Linked DNA regions of Homo sapiens: all the other regions are linked to region 1. The links are contacts of gene promoters, found by promoter capture Hi-C in blood cells and fetal thymus (Javierre and others, 2016). All regions are on one chromosome and are shown on one strand. The core of a region is centred on a gene start or on the middle of the fragment in contact, and the rest is flanking DNA. Distances in the headings are between cores, read along the strand shown.

What was found. Contacts are between HindIII fragments. The CHiCAGO score rates a contact against its expected background, and 5 or more counts as called.
Region 2: a contact is called between a fragment that was not itself captured here and the fragment with the promoter of NDN in region 1, in 2 of 17 cell types (M1 macrophages and M0 macrophages). The highest score is 7.5, in M1 macrophages.
Region 3: a contact is called between a fragment that was not itself captured here and the fragment with the promoter of NDN in region 1, in 1 of 17 cell types (M0 macrophages). The highest score is 6.2, in M0 macrophages.
Region 4: a contact is called between a fragment that was not itself captured here and the fragment with the promoter of NDN in region 1, in 3 of 17 cell types (naive CD8 T cells, M0 macrophages and M1 macrophages). The highest score is 7.5, in naive CD8 T cells.
Region 5: a fragment that was not itself captured here is called in contact with the fragment with the promoter of NDN in region 1 in 1 of 17 cell types (M0 macrophages); the score reaches 5.9 in M0 macrophages.
Region 6: a fragment that was not itself captured here is called in contact with the fragment with the promoter of NDN in region 1 in 1 of 17 cell types (total B cells); the score reaches 6.2 in total B cells.
Region 7: a fragment that was not itself captured here is called in contact with the fragment with the promoter of NDN in region 1 in 1 of 17 cell types (total B cells); the score reaches 9.4 in total B cells.

What each region holds. Positions count from the first base shown.
Region 1 is chr15:23,685,361-23,689,205 of GRCh38, reverse strand. It overlaps NDN (necdin, MAGE family member), which reads left to right and starts at 1,901. Exons shown (of 1, transcript NM_002487.3): 1 at 1,901-3,806. The coding sequence starts at 1,989. The coding sequence ends at 2,954. The HindIII fragment of the contact is 2,633 bases long and covers 538-3,170 here.
Region 2 is chr15:25,599,129-25,603,106 of GRCh38, reverse strand. No RefSeq gene overlaps it. Among named protein-coding and RNA genes, the nearest start is that of LINC02250, 22 kb to the right of the region's middle. The HindIII fragment of the contact is 208 bases long and covers 1,618-1,825 here.
Region 3 is chr15:25,278,342-25,282,160 of GRCh38, reverse strand. It overlaps SNHG14 (small nucleolar RNA host gene 14), which reads right to left. Exons shown (of 148, transcript NR_146177.1): 146 at 3,277-3,314. It overlaps SNORD109B (small nucleolar RNA, C/D box 109B), which reads right to left and starts at 3,818; the gene lies at 3,752-3,818. The HindIII fragment of the contact is 1,377 bases long and covers 1,814-3,190 here.
Region 4 is chr15:25,495,403-25,499,325 of GRCh38, reverse strand. All of the region lies in intron 4 of LINC02250 (long intergenic non-protein coding RNA 2250), which reads left to right. Among named protein-coding and RNA genes, the nearest start is that of UBE3A, 58 kb to the right of the region's middle. The HindIII fragment of the contact is 2,206 bases long and covers 385-2,590 here.
Region 5 is chr15:25,514,378-25,518,406 of GRCh38, reverse strand. LINC02250 (long intergenic non-protein coding RNA 2250) reads left to right here. Exons shown (of 5, transcript NR_187215.1): 2 at 1,762-1,959. Among named protein-coding and RNA genes, the nearest start is that of LINC02250, 62 kb to the left of the region's middle. The HindIII fragment of the contact is 3,957 bases long and covers 1-3,424 here.
Region 6 is chr15:25,536,707-25,540,741 of GRCh38, reverse strand. The region is part of intron 1 of LINC02250 (long intergenic non-protein coding RNA 2250); the gene reads left to right. Among named protein-coding and RNA genes, the nearest start is that of LINC02250, 40 kb to the left of the region's middle. The HindIII fragment of the contact is 1,709 bases long and covers 796-2,504 here.
Region 7 is chr15:25,475,812-25,479,878 of GRCh38, reverse strand. All of the region lies in intron 4 of LINC02250 (long intergenic non-protein coding RNA 2250), which reads left to right. Among named protein-coding and RNA genes, the nearest start is that of UBE3A, 39 kb to the right of the region's middle. The HindIII fragment of the contact is 1,717 bases long and covers 689-2,405 here.

The DNA.
Region 1 (3,845 bases), core at 652-3,151:
TCTCCTGCCTCAGCCTGCCAAGCAGTTGGGATTAAGGGTGCCCACCACCACACCCGGCTAATTTTTGTATTTTTAGTAGAGACGGGGTTTTGCCACGTTGGCCAGGCTGGTCTCGACCTCCTGACCTCAGGTGATCTGCCCGCCTCACCTTCCCAAAGTGCTGGGATTACAGGCGTGAGCCACCGCACCTGGCCTAAATATTTTATTTAAATAGTTAGAAAATAATACATACCCAAACAAAATAAAGAATAATATTGATGGAGATTTAAATGCAATAAATGAGGATTATATTTATGAAGCATGGGGGTAATAAGTCTGTTCAAGAGACATTCTTAAAAACAATGAATATAATTAGCATATTTCTGTAAGATGTTCCCAAGAAAATGGTAGATATCTATAAATAGAAGAAGGAGAAAAAGGAGAAGTAGATGGAGAGGAGAAGGAGGAGGTGGAGGAGGGTGAGGAGGAGGAGAAAAGTGTTGAAATAATTCCAACTAAGACTGATATCTAGGAATTACCCTGGTGAAGTGGGAAGCTTAAGAGTCCTGTTGGAGGGACTGGTGTGGTAATGGCTCTGCCAAAAGTGTTATGTGCGTGCAAACCCAAAGAGAGAAAGCACAGAAAACCTTTCAACATCAACCTGCTTGAGGAAAAATAAAGTGGGAAAAGATACATACTCACAGTGAGGACTCTAGACATGTCAAGACAATTTTTAAATATGCTTTTGGCTTCGAGTGGCAATAACTAGATTCAAGACAGCATATTTAAGAAGCTGCTGATGAGAAGAAACCCGGGAAGAGCTGAAGGACCACATCAGCCCAGACCAAGGATGCTGAAGCAGCATTAAGGTCCCTGGTTTCAGATGCTCAGGCAATGACCCTTTTTTTCATGGAGAGCCTGTAGGAGTGACAGTTTTGTCTTTGCCCACTGGGAATCTGTTTTCCATACCTGGAAAACAGGGTTACCTATGTTTCCCCTGCTACCCTTTGGTCATCTCAGAGACACTACCAGATATTACCCATGGGACCTATTTTTTTTTTAAATCTCAGGAAAGACTTGGGTGTGGCTTCCAACGTGGAGGACTCAGTAGCTTCAGAGAGGGTCCTGAGAGAAGGTGAATTGAAGAATGAGGGTGCTGGGCAGAGGGAAAAGACATTATCATACAAGTTTGTGCTAAAAGATATAGCAATCCTTCTGCTATGGACTAAGTATGGAAAAAAATAAAATGGAATCAAAGTTACCCAAAGGAAGTGTAAAACCCAAATTTATGCCCGTTAAAGCATTAATGATGCTCTAAGTCCACTGCCTACTTAAAAAGTTCATAGTTCACATGGGTTGATAGGAAATTACGTTAACGACACACTGCATTTCCCCTTTTCTTATAGCCTATCTGATTTGGTAGGGAGTCGATCATTTTTTATTGGAATTTCTCAGGATTCCAACCTCAGACATCCACTTTACAGTTTACACATTTTCTTGGACAAGCCCGACTGTTCCTCTCACTGGTTCGCATAAAGCTCATGTTTACAAAGCCGCCCAGACCTTTCTCTGGGACTCTCATATTTAACTTAATTCTGGATATACCCAGGTAAGCGTTTCCCAAGAAACTTGACCCCAACATCCCAAAAACTTAAGGTATCTTTCCCTTAAACTGGCCCCTTCTCCAGTACGCATCCATCTCACTTCTCTCCTGCCCTAGATCTTCTCAGCCCAAACAGGAAACCCCGGGATCGCTCTCCCAGCAGGTGAAGCCTCGCCATGGACCCTCCCCGTCGGGGCCCCGCGCTGCCCCGCCCGCCCCCAGCCGCTGGCCAAGGCCGCGGTCGCGCAGGCGCAGTGCCGCGTCCCGCCGCCGCCCCGCCCTGCCCGTCGCTGCGGAAGGCGCCGCGCGCAGCAACGCGCACTTCCTCTCCAGGAATCCGCGGAGGGAGCGCAGGCTCGAAGAGCTCCTGGACGCAGAGGCCCTGCCCTTGCCAGACGGCGCAGACATGTCAGAACAAAGTAAGGATCTGAGCGACCCTAACTTTGCAGCCGAGGCCCCCAACTCCGAGGTGCACAGCAGCCCTGGGGTTTCGGAGGGGGTTCCTCCGTCCGCGACCCTGGCAGAGCCGCAGAGCCCTCCTCTAGGCCCGACGGCCGCTCCGCAGGCCGCGCCGCCTCCCCAGGCCCCGAACGACGAGGGCGACCCGAAGGCCCTGCAGCAGGCTGCGGAGGAGGGCCGCGCCCACCAGGCCCCGAGCGCGGCCCAGCCGGGCCCGGCACCGCCAGCCCCGGCGCAGCTGGTGCAGAAGGCGCACGAGCTCATGTGGTACGTGCTGGTCAAGGACCAGAAGAAGATGATCATCTGGTTTCCAGACATGGTGAAAGATGTCATCGGCAGCTACAAGAAGTGGTGCAGGAGCATCCTCCGGCGCACCAGCCTCATCCTCGCCCGGGTGTTCGGGCTGCACCTGAGGCTAACCAGCCTGCACACCATGGAGTTTGCGCTGGTCAAAGCGCTGGAGCCCGAGGAGCTGGACAGGGTGGCGCTGAGCAACCGCATGCCCATGACAGGCCTCCTGCTCATGATCCTGAGCCTCATCTACGTGAAGGGCCGCGGCGCCAGAGAGAGCGCCGTCTGGAACGTGCTGCGCATCCTGGGGCTGCGGCCCTGGAAGAAGCACTCCACCTTCGGGGACGTGCGGAAGCTCATCACTGAGGAGTTCGTCCAAATGAATTACCTGAAGTACCAGCGCGTCCCATACGTGGAGCCGCCCGAATACGAGTTCTTTTGGGGCTCCCGGGCCAGCCGCGAAATCACCAAGATGCAAATCATGGAGTTCCTGGCCAGGGTCTTTAAGAAAGACCCCCAGGCCTGGCCCTCCCGATACAGAGAAGCTCTGGAGGAGGCCAGAGCTCTGCGGGAGGCTAATCCCACTGCCCACTACCCTCGCAGCAGTGTCTCTGAGGACTAGCAAAGTCTGGAGGCAGATGAATGGTTTCTGACCCTCACCAGGGCTGTGGAAGGGTGGGGGTGGGTCATTATAGTATTCAGGATTTACAGTGCAGTATTCACGTGTAACTTTTAAGTTTTCAGTACAGTGCTTTTATACCTTTAATGCAATGTTGTATTCATTTGGGTACTATTGTGTAGTATTTAGGATGTATGCATGTTTGTTTATATGTAAGCTTGGTTGGTGCTTTCGCTTTTGTGCTACCTTTCTTGGATTTTTGTACCAGAGATGTGCTAAACTGATGAAATACATTGAGAAAGTTTCCATCTTATTCTTTTATATGGGACTGATGATGTGTGTTGGGGTAGACTGCTCCTGCAGAGTTTGGAAGAAGTCACCAGCAAAGCCGGCCTAACCAAGAAAAGTCAAGGCCCTTCATGACCTTGCTGGGCACAGAAAACACCCTCGTGGAGTACACTAATTTGAACTGGACTGGTCTCAGTGTGAGCACTTGGCACACTTTACTAAACACATATACAACCCCACCGTGAGTCAACTTTAAAGTAAACATTAAAGATTCTTGTGATACAATCATTTTTGGAAAAGTGTACTTTATCATTTTAACAAAGCAGTATGGTTGGGAATGAGACAATTCTCTATTTTACAGTGTATACAGATACAACTATTTCCCCTAATAGGGTGGGAAAAATCGCTACTCATGATTACTCCTAAATTTGTGAAGTTTATAGTTCTATTGTCTTTAAATGTAACTCATGTTTATTTCAAAAACATTCACAAATATAGAAAAGTATACAAAACAAAACAGTAAGATTGTCTGTAATCACATCATATGGGAATAAAAAACAAAAATAATTTCCTTCCCTTAAGTTTCTACATTTTATCAAAATTAAT
Region 2 (3,978 bases), core at 472-2,971, 1.9 Mb before region 1:
AGTCTAAAGGTATTTTTACAGAAATGAAAAAAAAAACCCTAAAATTCATATGGAACTAGAAAAGATCTCAAATAGCCAAAGCAATGTTGAAGAATGAAGTGGGAGAAATCACACTTCCTGATTTCAAATTACGTTACAAACTCCAGTAAACAAAACAGTTTGATACTGGCATAAAAATAGGCATATGGATCAATAGAAAAGAATAAAAAGCCCAGAAATAAACCCAGGTATACATAGCTAATGGATTCTTGATGAGGATGCCAAGAATACACAATGGGGACAGGTCAGTCTCTTAAATAAATGGTGTTGGGAAAACTGAATATCCACGTGCAAAATAATGAAATTGTATGCTTTCTTATATGAAACACAAAAATTAACTCAAAATAGATTAATGATTTGAATGTAATAGCTGAAACCATACAACTTCTAGAAGAAAACATGAGGGAAAAGCTTAAGTGGGACAGCAAAGGAAACTATCAACAGCGTAAAAAGCCAACTTATAGGATGGAAGAAAATATTTGCAAACCATATATCTGATAACGGGTTAATTTCCAAAATACATAAAGAGATTCTAAACTCAATAGCAAAAACAAAAACAAAACAGAAGCAAACAAAAAACCTGGTTAAAAAATGAACAAAGGATTGGAATAGACATCTCTCCAAAGAACACCTACAAATGATGGACAACAGGTATACAAAAAGATACTCAGCTTTACCCATCGGCAGGGAAATGCACATCAAAACCACAATCAGATATTATCTTGCACCTATTAGGATGGCTACTATAAAAATATTTATAAATATTAGTGAGGTTTGTATACTGCTGATAGTAATGTAAAATGGTATAGCCATCATGAAAAACAGTATGAAAATTTTTCAAAAAATTAACAATTAAACTACCATATGATCCAGAAATCTCACCTCTGGGTATACATCCATAACAATTGAAGTCAGGATCTTGAAGGGATAGCTGCACTCCCATGTTCACTGCAGGTTTATTCACAATAGCCAACATATGGAAACAACTCAAATGTCCGTTGAAAAATTAACAGATAAAGAAAAATTGGTATATCCATGTAATAGAATATTATCCAGCCTTAAAAAAAAGAAGGAAAGCCTACAGTCTGTGACAACATGAATAAACCTGGAAGACATTATGCTAAGTGAAAGAAGTCAGTCACCTAATTATGTGCAGTTTCTTTTATGCCAATTATACCTCAATAAAGCTAAAAAAAAATGGGGAGGGGGGAGAGAGGACACATGGTTGGTATTACACATGAGAAAGATTGCTTTGAATGTGGTGGGCTGAATAGATTGGGGAGGAGGGGTGCAGGAGATGAGATTATAGGCCAGGATAGAAAGCTGGAGAGAGCAGAAATAGGGTGGGAACCTTGAAAGGATGGCTAGGTCAGACAAGTAGGAGTAGGAAAGGGAGCAGGGCAGAAAGAATGCACACCAGATTGCTTGAAGGTGCAACAGGTTTCTTAAAGAATCAAGATCACGCTTTAATTTAAAAACTTTTTTTATCCATTCTTATTGACAAGTGGCACTTGCCCAGATATATTTTTTTCAGGGTAGAAGTTTGTGATAAATTGAAGTAAAATTAACACAAAAGCTTAACTTATATAAAAGGACCCCAACAGCAGTCACAAGACTGTGTTACTGTAGGTCCTGTGCAGGATTGCAGAGACGTAGCCTAACCTCTACACTAAGGTCTTGCCATGTAGACCAGTCTGGTCTCGAACTCCAGCATTCCTGCCTTGCTTGGCCTCCCAAAGCACTGGGATTATAGGCAAGGCATGAGCCACTGCAACCAGCCAAAGCTTTTTTTTTTTTTTTTTTTTTTTTTTTCACAGACAGGGTCTCACTCTGTTGCCCAGGCTGGAATGCAGTGGCACAGTCATAGCTCACTGCAGCCTTGATCTCCTGGGCTCAAGCTGTCTTTCCACCTCAGTATCTCAAGTAACTGGGACTACAATTGCATATCACCACACCTGACTATTTTTTTTAAAAAAACAGTATTTGTAGAGATAGGGATCTCACTATGTTGCCCAGGCTGGTCTTGAACTCCTGGCCTCAAGCTGTCCACCTGCTTCTGCCTCCCAAAGTGCTGGGATTACAGGGATTACAGATGTGAGTCACCATGTGGGCCTTCCTCCCTTGTTTCTGGCAATGGTGGGTGCTGAGTCTTCTGTAGATTTTAATGACATGACTCAGAGTCTCCTTCCACCCAGTCTCAAAGGACAAGTTGAGTAAGGTGAGTAGCACCCCACATTTCCACGCTCCAAATTGTCTTTTCCATGCTGAGGTTCAGTTCTAAGTGTTGGAACTCTCTTATGAGCCTCCCTTCTCTTGCTCAAGTTAAATTTCTTTTCCTGGCGTTCCTTTGTATATCAGCAAAAAAATTCTTCAAGAGGCCAGAGAACAAACCTGGACTTGTCTACCTAGCAAGAAGTTTGTAGCTTAGACTGACTACCCAAAAGTAACTTGAATGTTAATTTTCTGCCCAATATTTTAGTATAAAAAATTGAAACATAAAGAAGAGCTGAAAAATTACTGCAGTGAACATTCACATACCCACAGTAGTATTCAATATTCCACATTTTGTCGTATTTACTTCTGTATCTGTCTAATCTATCTGTGTGTTTTTTGTTTTGTTTTGTTTTGAGATGAAGTCTTACTCAGTCACCCAGGCTGGAGTGCAGTGGCACGATCTCAGCTTACTGCAACCTCTACCTCCCAAGTTCAAGTGATTCTCCTGCCTCGGCCTCCTGAGTAGCTGGGATTACAGGTGTGTGCCACCACACCCAGCTAATTTTTGTATTTTTAGTAGAGGTGGGGTTTCACCATGTTGGCCAGGCTGGCCTTGAACTCCTGACCTCAAGAGATCTGCCCACTTTGGCCTCCCAAAGTGCTGGGATTACAGGCATGAGCCACTGCCCCTGGCCAACTATCCATGTGTTTTTTGAATCATTAGAAAGTGAGTTGCAGTTGTTACGACACTTCACTGCTTCAGCATGCGTTTTCTAGGAAAAAGAACAGTCTCCTCTGTGACCACAGTAGCATAATCACAATTTTAAAAATTAACCTCAATTTCCTAATATCATCTCATATCCAGTATATACCAACATTTTCCCAGTTGTCTCAGAAATGATTTTATAGCTCAAATTTTTAAAAACATAGAAAGAACCAAGATTCACAGATTGCATTTGGCTGTTTCATGTTCTTAGCCCCTTTTGATTATGACGTTAGAAGAGGCCAGGACAATGTCTCACGAAATGCCCACATTCTGGATTTGTATGGCAGTGTCATCGGTGGCGTCATTTTATTTGGTGCTCTCTTCCCTGTGTTTTCTATAAACCAGAAGTCAGACAAAAAGATTCAGTTAGGTTTAGTGTAAACATTTTCATCAAGTGTACTTTAACTTGACTATTGAAAATATTTCCCAAGCTTTAAAAGCATACCAAATCGGACTTGATAGTTCTAGAAATACCATGAAGTCATGTTGTAACTGTATTGAAGGGCTTTCCTTCATCTTTGTCTGGGTGCCAATACTGTGAGATTACTTTACTAAGCCATCCATGAATATCAGCAGTTAACAATGTTGCTTATAGGCCCCAAAGATGCTTTGAGTCAGAATAACCCAGGAGCTTCAGTCCAGCACTTTGGTTCGAGTTCCTTTAGCAATAAACCCTAAACTGAAAACTTTTTCAGAAACTTCTCTTTCTTTCTACGTTGATGCCTTCTAAGGTTACTTAAAGAAAGGGAATCAAAGTCCATACACAATGTACCCTTTATTTTGGTGTTGCAATAAGTACTCTAGGCATATAAAAACTAATTTCCTGGTTGGGCTCAATAGCTCACACCTGCAATCCCAGCATTCTGGGAGGCCAAGGCAGGAGGATAATTTGAGCCCAGGAATTCAAAACCAGTCTGGGCAACATAGCAAGACCCCATCTCTACAAAAAAAAAAAAAAC
Region 3 (3,819 bases), core at 1,253-3,752, 1.6 Mb before region 1:
GTTCAAAATAAAAGCATGTATTTCAGTACGTATTGGACCTTTCAATGAGATAATAATGTCCATGTTTTATAGCCCTTTCAGCACACTTCTATAAAGCTATATAAACATTATACAAGATAAAATTCTTTGTGTTCTGTATAACTGATTGACTACTTCAACCTGATACCTTCTCTTATGCTTTTACGTATCTCTTATTTGTTCATTCTCAAGAATACATTGCCAGCACTAAGGACAAAGATATGGCTTTTAAAAATACCAAATATGAATCTGTTCAAATTATCTGGAAGGAAACACACATAATACCAAAATTTTAAAAATTCCTGTTACAATGTTAAAATTGAGAAGAGTATTTTAGGGAATTGTCCTGATAAATTTCTCTAACTTTATAGTGTGGATGGTATCCTGGTCAATTTCTTCATGTTAACAGGACTTTATCAATCTAATCAATTTTGTCCTTTTACTGTCATCTTTGCATTGCCTATCACAAGTTATTAATTTATTAAGTATTAATTTATAAATATATACATAATTTTTTTTTTTGAGACGGAGTCTCGCACTGTCTCCCAGGCTGGAGGGCAGTGGCGCGATCTCGGCTCACTGCAAGCTCCGCCTACCAGGTTCACGCCATTCTCCTGCCTCAGCCTCCCGAGTAGCTGGGACTACAGGCGCCCGCCACCACGCCCGGCTAATTTTTTGTATTTTTAGTAGAGATGGGGTTTCACCGTGTTAGCCAGGATGGTCTCGATCTCCTGACCTCGTGATCCACCCGCCTCGGCCTCCCAAAGTGTTGGGATTACAGGTGTGAGCCACTGCGCCTGGCCTCATAATTATTATAAATAAAACTGAAACCTGTATAGTTTACCCAGGCAATGGCTCTTTCAAAACTTCTGAATTTTAGTCTTCAAATTTCTTTTGCAATTAGGAATATTTAAGTGATTGGAAATAAAAGACTATCCTGGTATGACTGTCAGTGATAAATGCTATAGTTATGGCATATGTTTTGTAAAAGGGCTGCCAATTTTCACTGTACTAACTATAACCTATTTTAACCTATTTTAATAATATTAAACATATTTATCACTTAAGAATCTATATTAAATAATAAAATATATTTTATGTTTAAATAATAAAATATATTTTATGTTGTATAAATATATACATAAATATATATCTGTTGTATAAATATAGATGTTGTATAAATTATATCTATGTTGTGTGTATATATACAATGTAGATAACTTTACCTTGACATTCTAATACATTACTGAAATAATGGTAACCTGAATATTTCATGATTTGACTATAACTCATTAAAGAAATCACATGGACCTAATTTTCAAGCATTACTCATTCTGGGAATGCTCTACAGAAACAGAGGCATGAGTGCATAAAAACTGGCATATTCCGATTATAAATGTATGGTATCTTGCAGTAGCAAAATGTTGATAACCATTATTCTGAAAACAAGAAATGGCTAAGGAAAATGTGGTGTCCTTCACATTCACTGAGGACACTGGCACATCTATAGTTTTTGACATAGAGACCTCAAGACCTATAGGACCTCAGGAGATTGTACAACATATATTACTACCAAAATGTCAAATCTAAAGCTCATTTACAGTAAAGTTAATTGGTTATGATCAATACATCTTATATAGAAAGATAAATGGATTGATAGATACTTGTATTAGCATAGAAAGTTTTTCCCTAATATAGGGCAGATGATTAAACATATTTCCTCTGGAAAGCATGGGGAAAAGGTTAAAAATACATCTGTCATAAATAATTTTATATTCTTCTATATTGTTAAGCTTTCTTAAAATGAAGTGATTACTCTTGGCAGTAATTTATGGCTGAAACTCTTTGATCTCAGACTAAAAAAGGGAAAATCAGGGAAGCAGGATTAAAAGTTGAAACACATTTTAGCTTTAGTATGTCGAGAACTCAAAAGGTGAAAAGCACTTAAATTTATCAGTTGTGTATTGACTAAGTAATCTCCAAGGAAATCCTTAAGCAAGGAGTTCACTGTTCTGACTTTTGGCTTTATACTTTACCCAACTTCATCAATATTTCCCCAAATTCTAAACTGTACAATGCATGTGGGCCTCTATTAAGATCTATGAGAAACTTCTTTGCATGTGGTGTAGAAATAATCACACTAAATCTTAACAACTATATTTGCTTGTATATTCAATTATGTAGCACATAGAATAGAAAAGCATGAAGGTATCACATTAATTCCCTCTCTGCAAAACAAGAGACATGTGCCAGTTCAAGTGATCTGTCAAAGAAAGTATAAAGAATTGAGTACCAAAATACATGAATATGTGGGGACAATACTGCAATCCTTAAGACTTGAGATTGTTCAGCATGTTTTTATAACAGAGAAAAAAGTATAAGAGAATTTAAGAATATACATAGAAAAAATATAAATGTGTTAAAATAAAAATACTTGAGTAACTACTCATGACATGATTTGCTAAAAAGCCCTGTGCTAAAGAGAGAACCCACTTGATCTATTATGAGGGCATCAATCAACAAGCACCATGTAATACACAATCTACTTGAGACTTTTTTTATGTATTAACCAATATTTTGACTAGTTCGATAAGTTTTTTTTACTTTCTATCGAAGAATAATATACATGTAGAAAAGTGCATACACTAAAATTGTAAAGCTCAATGTATTTGCATGATGCAATCACAGCAAGTACTCAACACACAGATCAAGAAATAAAAATTACATGCATTCTAGAAACCAGCCAGGTGTCTTATATCTATGATTATCTCAGACATGCCATCAAGAGAAGAAAATTTCCTATATAACTTACCTTGTTGCAACAATGAGGAAAAGACTAATTCAAGTCAATATTTAATAATTAAATTAGAAGCAGAAATATAATGTAGTATGACCACAAAGATATTATGAACCATGGAGTCTCTATTCTGAAACCCCAATAATTAAACAGATGGGGAAAATCTGTTAATATTTTGGCACACCTGGATTTCACTACAATACATTTTGATCCAATATGAAATTGCCAAAAATTCTCTTAAATTCTACATTTTTCCATAAAAGCAAAAGAGAGTTAAAATTAAAAGAGAAATGATAAGGATTCAATAGTGTAGGTGACATGGTGAGGGTCTCAATGAGGAAAAGGACATATCATGAAAATGTCCTCCAATAAGCTTCTGAAAAGATGTACAAAACGACCTAAAGACCTAGCAAAGAGCACATGACATATGAATTTCAAAAGATAATGGCTTAGCTACTCACCCCTGTTCTCTGAAGTGGAGGATCAGATTCCAGGCCTTCTATCTCAGCAAAACATGAAAGAAAAAAAAAGCAAAAATAATCTTAGAAAATACTCCACAGTAAAAATAACAAAGCAATAAACTTGGTTCCACTGTCATTATTTAATAGAGGCATGCCATATTTCCTTCTTTCAGCACAACACTAATGAGATTTTCAGACATATCACAGTTGCTTGACCCTTAATTCAATCTTCTAAAGTTTTTCATTTGTTACTTAAGAAATATTTCCTATATGTAAGTATCTATCTACAATTAAAGCAAGTCTTGGGTCACTAGGCACACTAAAGTGCACACTGACTCATAAGACAGGATGCCACTGCCCTCTTCGAAGAGATAGAAAAGGCACGCTCACAGGGGTACTATGTTGTCACTGAGGGATCCCCAAATAGAGCCAGGCTCTGAGAGTCTTATTTGTCCTATTGGAGGGCCGCACATCTGGACCTCAGATTGACATCTGGAATGAGTCCCTCAGCATCCTCAGACAATTATTCTCATCATCGATCCA
Region 4 (3,923 bases), core at 238-2,737, 1.8 Mb before region 1:
GGAATCACATTTCAACATGAGATTGGAAAAAACATCCAAATGATATCACAGATGATCGCATCTTTGTGGGCAAGGGGCTGTAAAGAGTGCTGACTCATTTTCCACCCCACAGCCTCTAGGCACCGCTGGCACATATTAGATGCTCAACAGATACCTGTTGACTAAATAATTGATGGGAGGGTGGTATGGCTATATAGTTGTTAGCCTCTTACTACCATAATCTCCAGGCTGTAAAGGCTGTGAGTGGTAGACTGAAAGCATGCCAGGTAATCTCTATAGAGGGCATACTAAAGAAACTAAGAGGACATCGCACAAGTGGGTGTGTTCATCCTGTGTGTGTGTGTGTATTTCGTTTTCGTTTACGGTTTTTCATATGAATAAGCTTTATTTTTGGAACAGTTTTAGGTTCACAGTAAAGTGAAGCAGAAAGTACAGACAGTTCCTATATACCCTCTGACCCCACACATGCACAGACTCCCCCACTACCAACATTCCCCACCAGGATGGTACATTTGTTACTACTGTTGAAATGGTATTGACACATCATCACTCAAAATCCACAGTTTACATTAAGATTCACTCTTGGTGTTGTATATGGGTTTTGATAGGTGTATAATGACAAGTTTCTACTGTTATAATATCAGATAGAATAGTTTCATTGCCCTAAAAATCCTCTGTGCTCTATTCATCTCTCTCTCCCCCAAATCCCTAGTATTAACTGATCTTTTTGCTATCTCCATAGTTTATCCTTTTCCAGAATGTCACATACTTGGAATCATATAATATAAAGGCTTTCAAATTGGCTTCTTTCACTTAGCAATATGCGTTTAAGTTTCCTGCATATCTTTTCATAGCTTGATAGCTCATTTATTTTTAGAGCTAAATAACGTTCCACTGTATGAATGTCCCACAGTTCATTTATCCATTCACCTATTGAAGGGCATCTTGGTTGCTTCCAAGTGTTGGCAATTATGAATGAAGCTGCAGGTTTTTGTGTGGACATAAGTTTGCAGCTCCTTTGGATAAACATCAAAGAGCACAACTGCTGGATATTATGGTAAGGGTATGTTTAGTTTTTAAAGGAATGCCCAAACTGTCTTCCAAAGTGGCTGTACTATTTTGCATTGTCACCAATAATGAATGAGAGTCCCTGTTGTTCCACATCCTCACTAGCATTTGATGTTGTCAGAGCTGTGGAATTTGGCCGTTCTAATAGGTATGTAGTGATATCTCATTGTTTTTTAATCTGCATTTCCCTGATGGCATCTTGTGGAGCATCTTTTCATATGCTTAACTGACATCTGTGTATCTTCTTCGGTCAAGTATCTGTTAAGGTCTTTGGCCCATTGTTTAATCGAGTAGTTTGTTTTCTTATTGTTGAGTTTTAAGTGTCCTTTGTATATTTTTGGTAACAGTTCTTTATCATATGTGTCTTTTGCAAATATTTTCTTCCAGTCTGTAGCTTATCTTCTTATTTTCTTGAAATTATCTTCTGCAGAACAGAAGTTTTTAATTTTAATGAAGTCCGGCTTATTAATTATTTCTGTCATGAACTGTGTCTCTGGTGTTGTACCTAAAAAGTCATCACCATACCCAAGGTCATCTAGGTTTTTCTCCTGTATTATGTTCTAAGCACTTTATAATTTGTGTTCCACAGGTAGTCTGTGACCCATTTTGAGTTAATTTTTGTTAAGGGTTTAAGGTCTGAATCTGGATGGATTTGTTTGCATGGGGATATCCAATGGTTCCAGTACCACATGTTGAAAAGACTATCTCTGCTCCATTGTATTGCCTTTGCTCCTCTGTCAAAAATCAGTTGTCTGAATTTATTTGGGCTTATTTCTGGTTCCATGTTCTGTTTCATTGATCTATTTGTCTATTCTTTTATCAATACCACACTGTCTTGCTTACTGTAGTTTTATAGTAAGTCTTGAAGTCAGGTAGACTGTCAGCCCTCTCACTTTGTTCTTCCCTCTCAATACCAATATGGCTAAATCTGGGTCTCTTGCCTCTCCATATAAACTTTAGAATCAGTTTGTTGATCTCCACAAAATAACTCCCTGAGATTTTGATTGGGATTTCAATGAATCTATGGATCAAGTTGGGAAGGACTGACATTTTGACAATATGGAGTCTTCCTGTCTATGAATATGGACTATCTCAATTTATTTAGTTCTTCTTTGATACCTTTCATCAGTTTTGAGTTTTGTAGCTTTCCTTATAGAGATCTTGTACATATTTTGTTAGATTTATATCTAAGTATTTCATTTCTGGCATGGTAATGTTAGTGGTAATGTGTTCTTAATTTCAGATTCCATCTGTTCATTGCTGGTACAGGAAAGCAATTAAGTTTTTCTGTGTTGTATCCTGCAACCTTGTTATAATTGCTTATTAGTTCCAAGAGTTCTTCAGTGGACTCTTTTGGATTATCTAGTAGACATCTGCAAATAAAGACAATTTTACTTTTTCCTTCCTAATTGTATACCTTTTATTTCCTTTTCTTGCCTGATTTCATTACCTAGGACTTCTAGTATAACACTGAAAAGGAATGATGAGGGGGACATCTGATTCCTGATTTTGCGAGGAAGCTTTGAGTTTCTCACCATTACGTATAATATTCATTGTAGGTTTTTAGATAGATGTGCTTTTCTTTATCAGGGTGAGCAAGTTTCCCCCATTCATAGTCTGGTGAGAGTTTTTATCATGAATGGGTATTGGATTTTGTCCAATACTTTTCCTGCGCCTATTTATATGATCACATAATTTTTTTCTTCTTTAGCCTGTTGATGCGATAGATTATATGAATGGATTTTTGAATGTTGAACCAGCTTTGCATAACTGGGATAAATCCTAGTTGGTAATGATGTATACTTATTTTTACACATTGTTAATTTGATTTGCTAAAATTTTGTTAAGGATTTTTGCATTTATGTTTATGACAGGTATTTGTTGTAGTTTTTTCCTGGAATATCTTTGTCTGGTTTTGGAATTAGGGTAATGCTGGCTTCGTAGAATGAATTGCAAAGTCTTCCCTCTGGTATAATTTCTTATTTAAAAATTTGGTAGGACTCACCAGCAAACCCACTGGGCCTGATGCTTTGTTTTGGATGGTTATTAATTATCGATTCAATTTCTTTAATAGATATAGGCCTATTACAATTGTCTGTTTCTTCTTAAAAGAGATTTGGCAGATTGTGTCTTTCAAGGAAATGGTTCATTTCATCTAGGTTATCAAATTTGTGGGCACACAGTCGTTCATAATATTCCTTTGTTATTCTTTTAATGTTCATGGGATTTGTAGTGATGTTCTCTCTTTCATTTCTGATACTGGTAATTTTTTTTTCTTAGCCTAGCTACAGAGGCTTATCAATTTTATCGATCTTTTCAAAGAACCAGCTTATAATTTTGTCGATTTTCTCTACTGATTTTCTTTCCAATTTTATTGATTTCTACTGTAATTTTGTTATTTCTTATCTTCTGCTTTCTTTGGATTTAATTTGCTCCTCTTTTGCTAGTTTCCTAAAGTGGACTGTGAACTTCATAGGAGCTTCTCAGTTGCCCCCCATCCCTTAGATAGGACAGGATGGTTACAGGTAACTGGTGTTAGGTATTTCCCTTCCCCTGGGTAGGTTAGGTTCTGATAAAACCCCAGCATTTAGGCTCTGATAAAATAGTTCCTCCTCAGGGTAGGCCTTGTAATAAGAAGAATGCTCTGGCACGTTTCAAAGTGGTTGCTTTTCTCCTCCCTGTGAGAGAAGCATAAGGGAATTTTTCTCTGATCCTTGCTTTGAGAAGCTGGGAGAGTGCCTGTAGTTACACCTCATAGAAGTATAAGAGCCCTTCTATACCTGGGTCTTCCTGGAGTTTTTAACTCCATCTTTTCCACACTCAACCTCCGGCAATTTGCCAGTTACAATTCAGCT
Region 5 (4,029 bases), core at 197-2,696, 1.8 Mb before region 1:
TGTTGTTTTCTGTTGAGTTCAGAGTTCTTTCTATATTTTAGATAGGAGTACTTTGTCAGATGTGTGGTTTGAAAATGTTTTTTTCAAGTCTGTAGCTTGTATTTCCATTTTCTTCACAAAGTGTTTCGTAGAAAAGAAAACATTTTCAAACTTAATAAAGCCCAGTTTACAAACTTTTTAAAAAATAGATCTTGCTTTTGGTGTCTAGTCTAAGAACTCTTGCCTAGCCTTAGATCACAAACATTTTCCCCTATTTTAAAAAATGTTGTATAGATTTATGTCTATGCTCCATTTTGAATTTGTTTTTAGATAATGTACAAGACTTAGGCTAAGGTTCATTTTTGCCTATGAATGTTAAATTTAGCCTTTATAATTGTTTTATAATTGTCTTGTCCAGAGTCAATTCAAGGCAGTCTGAAAAATTAAAAACAATGCTATAGGCAAAAAGTCAAGAATTTGGAGCAAATAGACTGAGATCATATAAAAATGCACAGAGGGGGCCGGGCGTGGTGGCTCACGCCTGTAATCCCAGCACTTTGGGAGGCCGAGGCGGGTGGATCACCTGAGGTCGGGAGTTTGAGACCAGGCTAACCAACATGGAGAAACTCCATCTCTACTAAAAATACAAAATTAGCCGGGTGTGGTGGCACATGCCTGTAATCCCAGCTACTCAGGAGGCTGAGGCAGGAGAATCGCTTGAACCCGGGAGGCGGAAGTTGTGGTGAGCAGATATCGTGCCATTGCACTCCAGCCTGGGCAACAAAAGCGAAACTCCATCTCAGAAACAAACAAACAAACAAAAATGCATAGACGGTAGACCTGTAGAATTACTAGAGATAGTTCTGAGTTTCCCACAAACTCAGTGCAAAAACAGAAATTTGATCTGTTATATGAATCACTCCTTGTCTCCAACATAATGACAAAATTGTTAATAAGAAGTAGTACAAACATCCTTGGTCTTGAGGATTAAGAAAATGAGAAAAGTCCTCATGAAAAGGACTCTGTACAACATCTTCATCAACGTGCTGTAACTAGGGTAACCCTATGATCTAAAAATCAGCCAAAACTGACTATCTTTGAGGGTGAACAAGGCACTATCAATAAAAATGCTGAGACAAAGGCATAAACTCAAACTATCCGCAGGAAGCTGGGGCTGGATTCACTTTTTAACAGTAACGCCAACATAGGGCTGTTACACATCCTGAACCTCAAAGTAGGCCTCCTTCAAAACCTAAATGCAGCTGGGCATGAGCGTTCAGTGGCAGGGGAATGCTGTATGCACTGTATGCCATTCTCATGCTGGAAATCGATTTCAGAATAGAAAATTAGAGAATATTTTTCTTTTGTCCATGATATTCCTACCTCTGACTTAAAGTTCAGCCACCACCTTATAAAACACATACTTGGGACAAAGTTATTGTCTGTGCTGAATGACCCTTTGTCCATTAGCAGGTATCGTTGGTGAAGCCCATTAATTACAATCCCTGAGAGTCAACTCATCCATTTGGGGTATGACATGAATCCTTACAAGTCAAAGTGATGTGTTCACAATTTCTTATCCAATAACTCGCTATGTCTTACAATGTATAAGGTCTTAATACATTAAATGTGAAGGGTGGACTCAAACAATGTTGGGGAATTTCAAAGAAAAAATACCAAGAGTGACACATTTGAGCTAGTTTCTGAACGCCAGGTCCTCATTCAGAAGGTTGGCAGGCAGCAACATCACCTAACCATCCACTCTATTTTAATTATTTCAAGAGATTGCACAGAGTTCTTGATATTGAAGAGTGAACCATGTTCAAGGAAGAAGAGATCACCCCATAAAACCCTTCCAGCTTGTGTTACAATCAGATGCCTCTAAGATGGACAAAAAAGGCACACAGAGATATTCCCTACTCAGGCTCTGGTCAAATCTCTCTCCACTTAATGGAGCATGGCTTTCAACTGCACCTGGAGGTGAGGAAGGGTAGGGGGCAGAGGGGAAATGGATAAATGCGGTTGAAGGGAGAAAGGAATTACACTAATGGGGCTTCTAGAGTGTTAGGCCCTAGGCCATGTAAAAGAGAAGTTATTCTGACACTTTTTAAAACAGAAAGGAAGACTTCATTTAAGTCTATTGTCAATGGGAGAGAGCTTGAACTCATCGACTGCATACAACAGGGACAGGTGGGGATAATCAGCAGAGGGAAGGAACAAATGGAAAATTCACACCAGGAACTTGATTAGGCATCAAGGGTACAGGGACTCTTGTTAAACAGACAACAGGGTTTCTTGTCAGCACTGGGCTAGGCAAACCAAAGACAGGACCAAGGATAAGGTAAAATAAAAAAAAAAAAAAACGGGGTTGGGGGGACGGCACTAAGGAGCCTCACTAAAGTTTGGTCAAGGTTAAGGTCCTTGCTCACCTTAAGCAAGTACTCAAACAATTCAAAAGTACTACTGAGACGGTATTTTTCCCATTGACTGGCATGTCGTGGATGGCTCTCCACCCTCCTGCATGACCTCACAGGCAGAACGTGCAACCTGTAGCAAGCCAGTGACTCCCATCACCCTCCCCATTCACAGGCAAACTGCCCTATCCAGGCCATCCTAAGGCACAACTCCCTCGCCGTGCTGAGTGCCATCTCCCAGGCCCTGCTCCTGAAGTTTCCCCGTGTCACAGTGCACACATGTGCTGTCCCAGGCCAGCAGGGCATCACAGCTCCCTTATGTCACCCCAAGGCAGCTTCTGGCCAGGTCTCCCTGCTTCTTCAGCAGATTCACCCCACTGAGGGTTTTTTTGTTGTTGTTTTTTGAGTTTTTTGTTTTTTAGAAAGTCTTTCTCTGCGGAGAGAGGCAAAACTAAGAAATGTCTATTTAAGTCCTCTGCCCATATTTTAACCAGATGATTTGTTTTCTTGCTATTGAGTCTTAGGAGTTCCTTAGATATTTTGGAAATTAACTGCTTGTCAGGTATATGGTTTGCAAATATTTTCTCCTATTCTGTAGGTTGCCTTTACACTCTTGTTTCCCTTGCCATGCAGAAGATTTTCAGTTTGATGTACCTAATTACAAGGAGCCATGTCTTGATCCTGTGTCTCCTAGGTTGGGTCTCCCACATGTGTTTCACTCTTTGGCTTCCTTTCTCCATTGCTAACAAACAAGAGGCTAGGCCAGTTACTCGTCCTTCCAGGGTCCCAGGCATGGAGGGAGAGCAACGATACTGTGAGGATGACGGAGGGCTTGGAGTATGAGGAGGAAGGTAGGACAGGGCATACTGGTTTCTCCTCACAGATCTTTTCCTCATATAAAGTCCTTAAGGAAAACTACCATTTGTACTCAAAAGAAAGAGCCACTTGCCCCCTAAGCACTCTTTACTTTCCCATCCTATAAGATGTATCAGAGCTGACGCATCACATGAAGAAAAGAAATCTAACAAGCTTCCTGGGCATTCACCGCGCCAAAGTCACCATCATGACTGTCACCTGCTGGAGCAGGGCAGAGCCATCCACGAGAGGCAGAAAATTGTGTGCAGGCACCGAGCTCCAGTACCACGATGGCACATGGGGAAAGCCTCAGTGAGGGAGGGGAGCAGAACCCTTGGTCCCCTCGGATCCCCTCGGAGGGACCGGATACACAGGAAGCAAACGGGGTGCATGAGGAAGGCACACAGGGAGGATGCTGGCTAGAGTACCTAGTCGATCTGGATTCCACACATTCCAAGACAGGTTTCGTCCACTCTTACAGGAACAAAGATGCATTTTGACAACATGCTAGCATTAATAAGCTAATAAGCACCCAGTGGTGTCCCTTGATTGTTTAACAAGAAGCTCACTGAGTAGACTCCAAGCTCAGGCCCTGAGCTTTGACAAAGGTGGGAATTTGAAGGTGGACTGAGAGTCAACTTCCTCTATTGTCATCTACGGCTCTGAATAAAATATTTACTGCAGACATCTGATTCCAATTTAATTATCTTTTCCAACAAAGGCAGCTTGGGTTTGACAGGCAACAGGAAAGGCAAGTTAATCGTGGGCATCTGCTAATTAG
Region 6 (4,035 bases), core at 401-2,900, 1.9 Mb before region 1:
ACAATTGATTTATAACCTTGTTGCCACCAGCCAGACCATCAGGTGGCCCGTTACTCAAGATAACCATCACAACCAGATATGCTGACCTGTGTACCCTACCCCTCACATACTGTGCCCAACCCAGCCTACATATCTATCCCTGATGTCAATTCCCATCCTTTGCCAAAAAAAAAAAAAAAAAGCCCTACTGGCTCTTTTCAGAGAGTCAGCCAGATAGCGCTCTCTCTCTCTCTCTCTCTCTCTCTCTCTCTCTCTCTCTCTCTCTGGTGCTGCCTCCCTTATGCACCAGCATAAGCTCCAGTGAAGCCTTGTCTGGGAAAACTCTCTGATCTCATGTCAATTTCTATTGCATTGGGAGACCAAGAAGGTGGGTAACAACTGATCTATGCAATCTCAATAAAAATCCCAATGAGTTTTTTAAAGGACATTATTAATACAATTCTGAAATTTAAGTGGAAATGCAAAGAACTAAGAATACTTAAGATACGCTTTAAGAAGAATAATGAGGGGAGAGTTTCCTCTTCCACCTATCATGATTTATTATAAAACTGTAATAGTTCAGTTGATGGCATGATATTGTTCCCAAGGATAAACAAATAGACTCATGACAAATGGAACAGATAGCCTAGAAACAGGCCAGTGCATATATTAACCCTTGATTTTTGAAAAGGTGGTACATCAAACAATGGGGAAGAAAACGATATTATTTTATATAAATAGTGTTGGGTCAATTGTATTATTTACCCTTTTGAAAACAGAATTAAAGTTGACCTTCTCACATAAAAAAATCAAGCTTAGGTAGATTGTAGACCTAAATATAAAAGGCAAAACAACATATTTTCAAGGAGGTAATAAAGGAAAATATTTTCACAGTCTTGAGTGTAGAGAAAGATTTCTTAAATAGGACACAAAAAGGGCTAATCATAAATAAAAAGATAAATCATTCAAATCACATTCAAATTAAGAATGTCCATTCCTTAAAAGGCACCATTAAGAGAGTGAGAAGGCAAGCCACAGAGAGAGAGAAGATATTTGCAATTCATGTAATCAACAAAATACTCAGATCTAGAATATCAAAAGCATCCCTAACGAATCCATAAGAAAAGATAGACGACTCTATTGAAAAATGAGCAAGTGATCCAGAGATTTCTCAAAAAATGTACTGTCCTAAATGGGCAATAAATTTATGAAAAGTTTCTCAATCTTGTTAGTAGTAATTGGGAAATGCAAATTAAACTACAACGAGAAAGACGGCCAATCACAAGTGTTTGGTGAGGATGTGGAGCGCACTGTTGCTGGAGCACAAGTTACTGCCACTTTGTTTTTTGTGTTTTGGGGGCGATGGAGTCTCACTCTGTCATCTAGGCTGGAGTGCAGTGGCGTGATCTTAGCTCACTGCAACCTCTGTCTCCTGGGTTCAAGCGATTCTCCTGCCTCAGCCTCCCAAGTAGCTGGGATTACAGGTGCGCATCACCAACATGCCCGGCTATTTTTGTATTTTTAGCAGAGACGGAGTTTCACCATGTTGGCCAGACTGGTCTCAAACTCTTGACCTCAAATGATCTGCCACTCCAGCCTGCCAAAGTGCTGGGATTACAGGCATGCACCACCATGCCCAGCTAATGTTTCACCATGTTGGTCAGCTAGTCTCAAACTCCTGACCTCAAGTGATCTGCCCGCCTCGGCCTCCCAAAATGCTGGGATTACAGGTGTGAGCCACTGCACCTGGCCAGTTACTCTCACTTTGGAAACTGTCTGGCTACATTACTGGAGTTGGAAATAAGTATCACTATGCCTAGGGTGACCATATTTTGAGAGTGAATGTAGGCTTTTACCAGATAGGACAACAGGCATAAATTGGGATTGTTCCAAGCAAACTAGGATGTGTGCTCACATCAATTGTGGTATATTCTCTTACCCAGCAATGCCACTTCTAGGAACGCCAAGACACAGGCCCAAGCAGACACAGAGCAGCATCTTATGTAAGAGCCCCAAACTGGGAACAATCCAAATGCCCATCCACTTAGAGTGTATACATAAATTGTGGTGTATTCATACAGTAAAACATTAGACAATTAGGAATACATCAGCTAGAGATACATGAAACAATATGCTGACTCTCACACAGTATCGAGAAAAAAGTGAGATACAAAAAAAGTGCATGTTGTATAATTTCAGGCAACATAACATAAATCATAGTGCGATAAGTCAGGATAGTGTCACGGTAGCAGACAGTCTAATGCCTTCCCTAAAAGATGTCCACACACCAATCCCCAAAATCTATGAACATGTTACTTTTGAGGAAAGAGCTTTTATCTGAGTAATGCAAGTCCTTTTAATTATCAGGCTCAGAGAGACCTTAAAATGAGGCAGCAATTGTGTCTTGCTTCCCCCCATGAGCTTCCCCCCATGTTCATCTCATGAAACTGCTTGCTATTGCCACAAGTAGCCATAAATTAACCCAATAATGCCACACCAGACACTATAACACACATCCTAAAGCTTAACAATGGATAGCCAATCACTAATCAATGTTATTCCTGTAAACCAATGAGAATTCCTAACAAACAACTTTGTATCAGCCCACTTCCTGCCCCACTTTTTTGCATTAAAAAATCCACTAGTAACTGTGGCTGTTCTGAGTGTATATTCAGGGCTACTTGAATCCAGGCCCTCAAGCTTGGCCCCAAGTGGACTTTCCACGTAATTTTGCATCAGCTTCTTCCTTTCAGGCCAGCACCTTATATGGCAAAAGGGACTTTGCAGATGTGATTAAGGTTGAAAACTGTGAAATGGAGAGATTATCCTGGACTATCCCAAGGGCCTAGTGTAATCTCAAGAATCCTTAGAAGAGAAATAGGGAGGCAGGAGAGTCAGAACCAGAGATGTGACAACTGAAGTCATGTCAGAGTGATGCCTTGTGAGAAAGACTTGACTGACCATCGCTGGCTCTAAAGACAGAGATGGGGCCATGACCCAAGGAATGTGTGTGGAGTGTGGAAGCTGGAAAAGCTTATTCCCTAGGGCCCCAAGAAGGAACACAGCCCTGCCCGCACCTTGATTGTAGACCCATGGATACTATTTCAGCCTCCTGACTCCAGAACTATGAGATAAATTAGTGTGTTAAGCTACTAAATTCATGCTAATTTGTTACAGCAGGGTCGGGGAGGAAAATAACTTAGCTCTAAATAGTTCTTAGCTGGGATCCATTGTAACAAAAGATAGACTAACCAGAGAAAAACAAACGACTATACAGCCACGTGTCATGCAACAATAAGGTTACATGCTGAGAAATGCATCATTAGGTGATTTCCTCCTTGCATGAACATCATAGAGTGGACTTACGCAAGTCTAGATGGTACAGCCTACTTCACCCTAGGCAATATGGTATTGTCTGAAATCTAGTTATGCAGCACTGACTGTATCAACATAAATACATCAAATATACATGGGAGATACCTAGGGAAAAATGAGTAAATCTCAAAGAGATGTCTTAGTATTTGGTCTTAAATACCATCTTAAGCTAAAAACAGAGAAAGAAGGGTGTGGGGAAGGCCAGTCATGGCCAAGTGCCTAGGAAAAGCAGGGTACCCAAGAGTCAGGTTTGCTATGCAGATTTCAGCGGCTGCCTCTTCATTGATAAGAGTCTGGTGATTTAGAGTCCTCTTTCTCTTCCTGGTACAGAAAAGGAGACATCCAAGCAAATGGAGATTTTCTCTACAAATGTAAATTTCCCCTTACAAAAGGGTCACTTCGACTTTTATTTTCAGAGTTTCTCCTGTGTCTGCAGTTTCACAAAATAACCAGGTCAAAATAATCCTTATGCTAAAGAGACATATTTTGGGATGGCATATTCTCGTCTTCTACAGGAGCAATGAGAAAACTCATTTAGCCATCTTTCAAAAGGAGGGAGCTCTGGGGTTCCTGGAAATATTCTATTCATGAATCTACATGATCATGTTACACGTGTTCTTTATGAGATATTTCAACAAACATCTCATAAGGTATATTTATTTTTTGTGTGCTTTTCTGTGT
Region 7 (4,067 bases), core at 298-2,797, 1.8 Mb before region 1:
CTGAACTCACCATCTTTCACCCAAACCTGCTCTTCTCTGTGAATCCCGTTTACATGCCCATTATCAAACCCGAGAGCTTCAGCACACCCTTCCCTGTGTGTCCTCAGAGTCTACCCTAGGTCTTCATCAGTCCCACCCTGGCATCTGGGACAAGGCCTGATACAGATTAGTAGATGCTCAGTACATTTATGAACAGCCTCTTTGTCCTTCCCCTCCTCATTTGACCAGCTACTAAGTCCTAGCACTAAGAGCTATTCACTACCAATAATTCACATGAACTGTATGAAGGACCCAGATAAGTTGGCAGTGATAATGGAAATTGCAAGGAGTAGCAAAGACGTACTCAAGAGCTGACCTGTGTGAACCTGAAGCCCCTGTTTCTGCTCAGCATCACAGGGGCTTGATGTGTGTAAAGCACATCCCAGGAAGCACATAGGAAACCAACTGTATTATAGTGATTTTTCTTATTTATTTTGTATCCATCTCTACTAAACTAATGCTGGACAAGGGACTCTCATGGGTTTTCTAGCCTTGCCATTTAGCAATAGTGGTCATTTACTTTCTTTCTTTGCCATAATTATATTTCTTATTTATATTTCATTTCTATTACATTCTAAGACATTCTTAAATAATAAAACAACCAAATGTCCAGACTCTCATTCAGAGTGTCTCATGTGCTGAGAAAGCTTCTTGAAGGGACTAGGAACTTGTTGCAGTTTCCATTGTGGGGTTGTGCATGTTTTTTAGACACCTGCGCAGGCACCAGCTTTAGTGGGGAAAAAAAAAAAAAAAAAGGCTTTGTAAGGGCTGTATTCAAAATGCCAGTTAACGCCCATCACCATTTAACAGCAGTTAGGAACACTAACAGTGTACCCTGCATACATTATTACCCAGTTAGATATTTTTATTGCTAGCAGATTCATGTCCCTAAAGAAGGAAAGGAAATGAGGCTTAGATGGGAACACGACAGGCACTGTGCTCAGGAACCAGGCTGTGTGTACAGGGATGCTGAGAGGCAAAGCTCCTGAAACCTTCTTTCCTAAGGGGGATCTGAATACCTCAATGCTACACAGGAAGTGGAGGATGTAGTTCTCTCTGTATTTCATTCACTCTGCAAAGACAAAAAAAAAAACAAAAAGTCTCTAGCAATTTATTGAAATTATCCTGTAATCACAAGGTTAACATCAGCAGTACCATTTTTCTGTACAAAGGAAGAAACTAGGCTTTTAGTTTTATTTTCAGTGAAATCATTAAAACACAACATTCCCCAAGGCCTTTCTACCAGTGGGATCAGCCACAGTGATGTGAAGTGCCGGGTGTCTGGCTTTGTTTGTCAGAGAACTGAGAACACTCAGGGCAAATATTAAGTCACAGATTTTCTGCAGAGTCATCGCTTGCCATGGTCTCTCACCCAGGCAGCTCTGCATTCAGGTGGAGAAGGTGGAAATTAGGGAGTCATTAGTTGGCCTCCATCAAAACAGCATCATTGGTTCACTATGTCTCCAAGTAAAGCATCTACCATGTTTCAGGAACTGGGTTTGGTACAGTGATGAACTACACGAGTAAGGCCACTAGCCTTTCAAAACTCAGAATCTAGTGAGGGGAAGTATCAATAAATTTGTTAAAACATATATAAATTAGGAAATGCACTCTGAAGGAAAATAACAGGAGCTATAAGAGAGAGAATGATAGCTGCTTTAAATCACATTCACAGGCAAGGCCTCTTTCTGATATGGATGCTGTCACACCAAGAACATGACATAGTCCCTTGTGAGGAGGAAGCCTGCGGTGGGGGGCATAAGCTCCAGACAGCTGCAGTGCAAAGGCCTGAGGCAGAAAAGGGCTCTGCACATCAGGAAGCTATACGGAAGCCGGGACCCTAAGGCAGCAGACAGCAAGGAACAGGACAGGGCTGCACGTGACCAGGGGGCAGGAACGGGGCTCTGCAGGCTTTGTTGGAGGGTCTGGATTGGAGCTGACTGGTGAGTTTTGTTTGTTTGGAGGATAATAAGAGTAAATGTGGAGTACTGGGGACAAACACTGGACTGCAGAGAACTGAGGAGAAAGGTGGGGAAACAGGCAACAAGCATGGGGTTTGTTTCTTCGGGAGAAGTCAACTATAAAGGAATGCAGAGAAGAGGTGTTGAGAGAGGATTCTGTTTTCAGTGGGGAAGTGAGCATACTTACAGAGTAGGGAATGACTCAATAAAAATAAATGAATATGGAGAGGATGGTTACTCTCCATGGAGCAGGGAGTATTTCTCAAGGAAGGCCCACCAAATCCTATGGGAAGTTCTCCTGGGGGGGCTAAAGACAAAAATCCCTGGGCAACACCCAGCATCAGAACACAAAGGGGGAAAGGCCCAGAAATTCTCATTTTTCACAACGTCCTTAGTGTAAAAGCTTGGTGCCACCATGGTAGTCTGAGTAGGCCAGCTTCCAACAGGGGAAGGACACTCAATCCTTTGAGACTGGAAGACAATGAGGGCAGATGTAGTACAAGAAATGGCAGATCTGTCAGTGTAGGTGAGAGCAGAGAAAAGCTCACCCCAGAGGGCAAAGAGCCCACTCTCCCAGGCCTGCAGGAACACCAAAAAACACCCCTCTGCTTCTTAGCACTTTCTAACAGTTATGCTGAACGCCAGACAAACCTGATTCTCCTGGGCCCTTCTAAGTGTGTTAATTTGAGTGATGGCTGACCATCCTCTCAAGTGGGTTACAGTAGCCCTTCCCCCTAGGTCAGCGGCACCTGAAATGGATGCCAGAAAGACTGGAACAGAAGAAAACTGAAACTTGGCAGGTGCATGGACTCAGGATTTCTCTCTTCCTCTGTCTGGGCCCTGCTTGGGATACACACAACAGACTCTTGGCTACAGACTGATTCAGATTTAACCAACTGGTGAAGAGCCTATTGATATGGGCTTAGGATTGGTTACGATTTTCTTAGGACTTGGACAGGCTTGAGTGAAAATTAATGTTCTTAGTTTCAGAAGCTGAAAGGAGCTATGGAAAGTGAGAATTAATAGTTTCCCATTATTTTTTAAACACTTCCTCCTAGTTTTTGCATATCATTAATGATTTTCTGTTGAATAACAAAATATGGAAAAATTAACATCTGACTTTCGTGCTGTCGTGATACATTGTATTTATTATTTCAATTTTTCAGAAACATTTTATAAAGAACCAAAACCAAAATAATTTTATCATAACCCTTTTTCTTGATGAGCTTATGATAAAGCACTCCTTTTCCTAGTTTTTCTTCCCAACACTAAAAATTAGCATTTAAAAATAGTCAGAGAAGGCCGGGCACAGTGACTCACGCCTATAATCCCAGCATTTTGGGAGGCCGAGGCGGGTGGATCACCTGAGATCAGGAGTTCCAGACTAGCCCAGCCAACATGGTGAAACCCTGTCTCTACTAAAAATGCAAAAATTAGCTGGGCCTGCTGGTGGGCACCTGTAATCCCAGCTACTCGGAAGGCTGAGGTAGGAGAATCGCATGAATCCAGGAGGTGGAGGCTGCAGTGAACCAAGATCATGCCATTGCACTCCAGCCTGGGGGACAAGAGCGAAACTCCACCTCAAGAAAAAAAAAAAAAGATCAGAGAATGAATAAATACTTCAAAATGAAGAGTAGCTTGTTTTCCTGCTACCTCAAATTTATGGTGTAAAATACATGCACTTAGGATTTATCTTGCAACGAATTTTGCCAGTGTTTAAGGAATTACTCCCTAGTGCCAAGAGTTCATGGCCTGGCTCACCATACAAACTTATGTCAGTCATGTAGGAAACACTGAACAGCCAATACAAATGCATCTTATCACAGCACCTTGATTACAGGTGACAGAGTGATTGCAAGCATTCTGAGTCCAACACAGTTGGGTTTGAACATTTTTTTACCGTTACAATTGTGCTCCTGGAAACTACAAGCCTTATGAAATGGAGAGATGAACAATGTAATTGGGGAATTCAGAGTAAGTTGTTTTTTTTTTTTTGTTTGTTTGTTTTTTGAGATGGGGTTTCACTCTTGTTGCCCAGGTGGGAGTGAGACAGTTTTTAGGCTCACT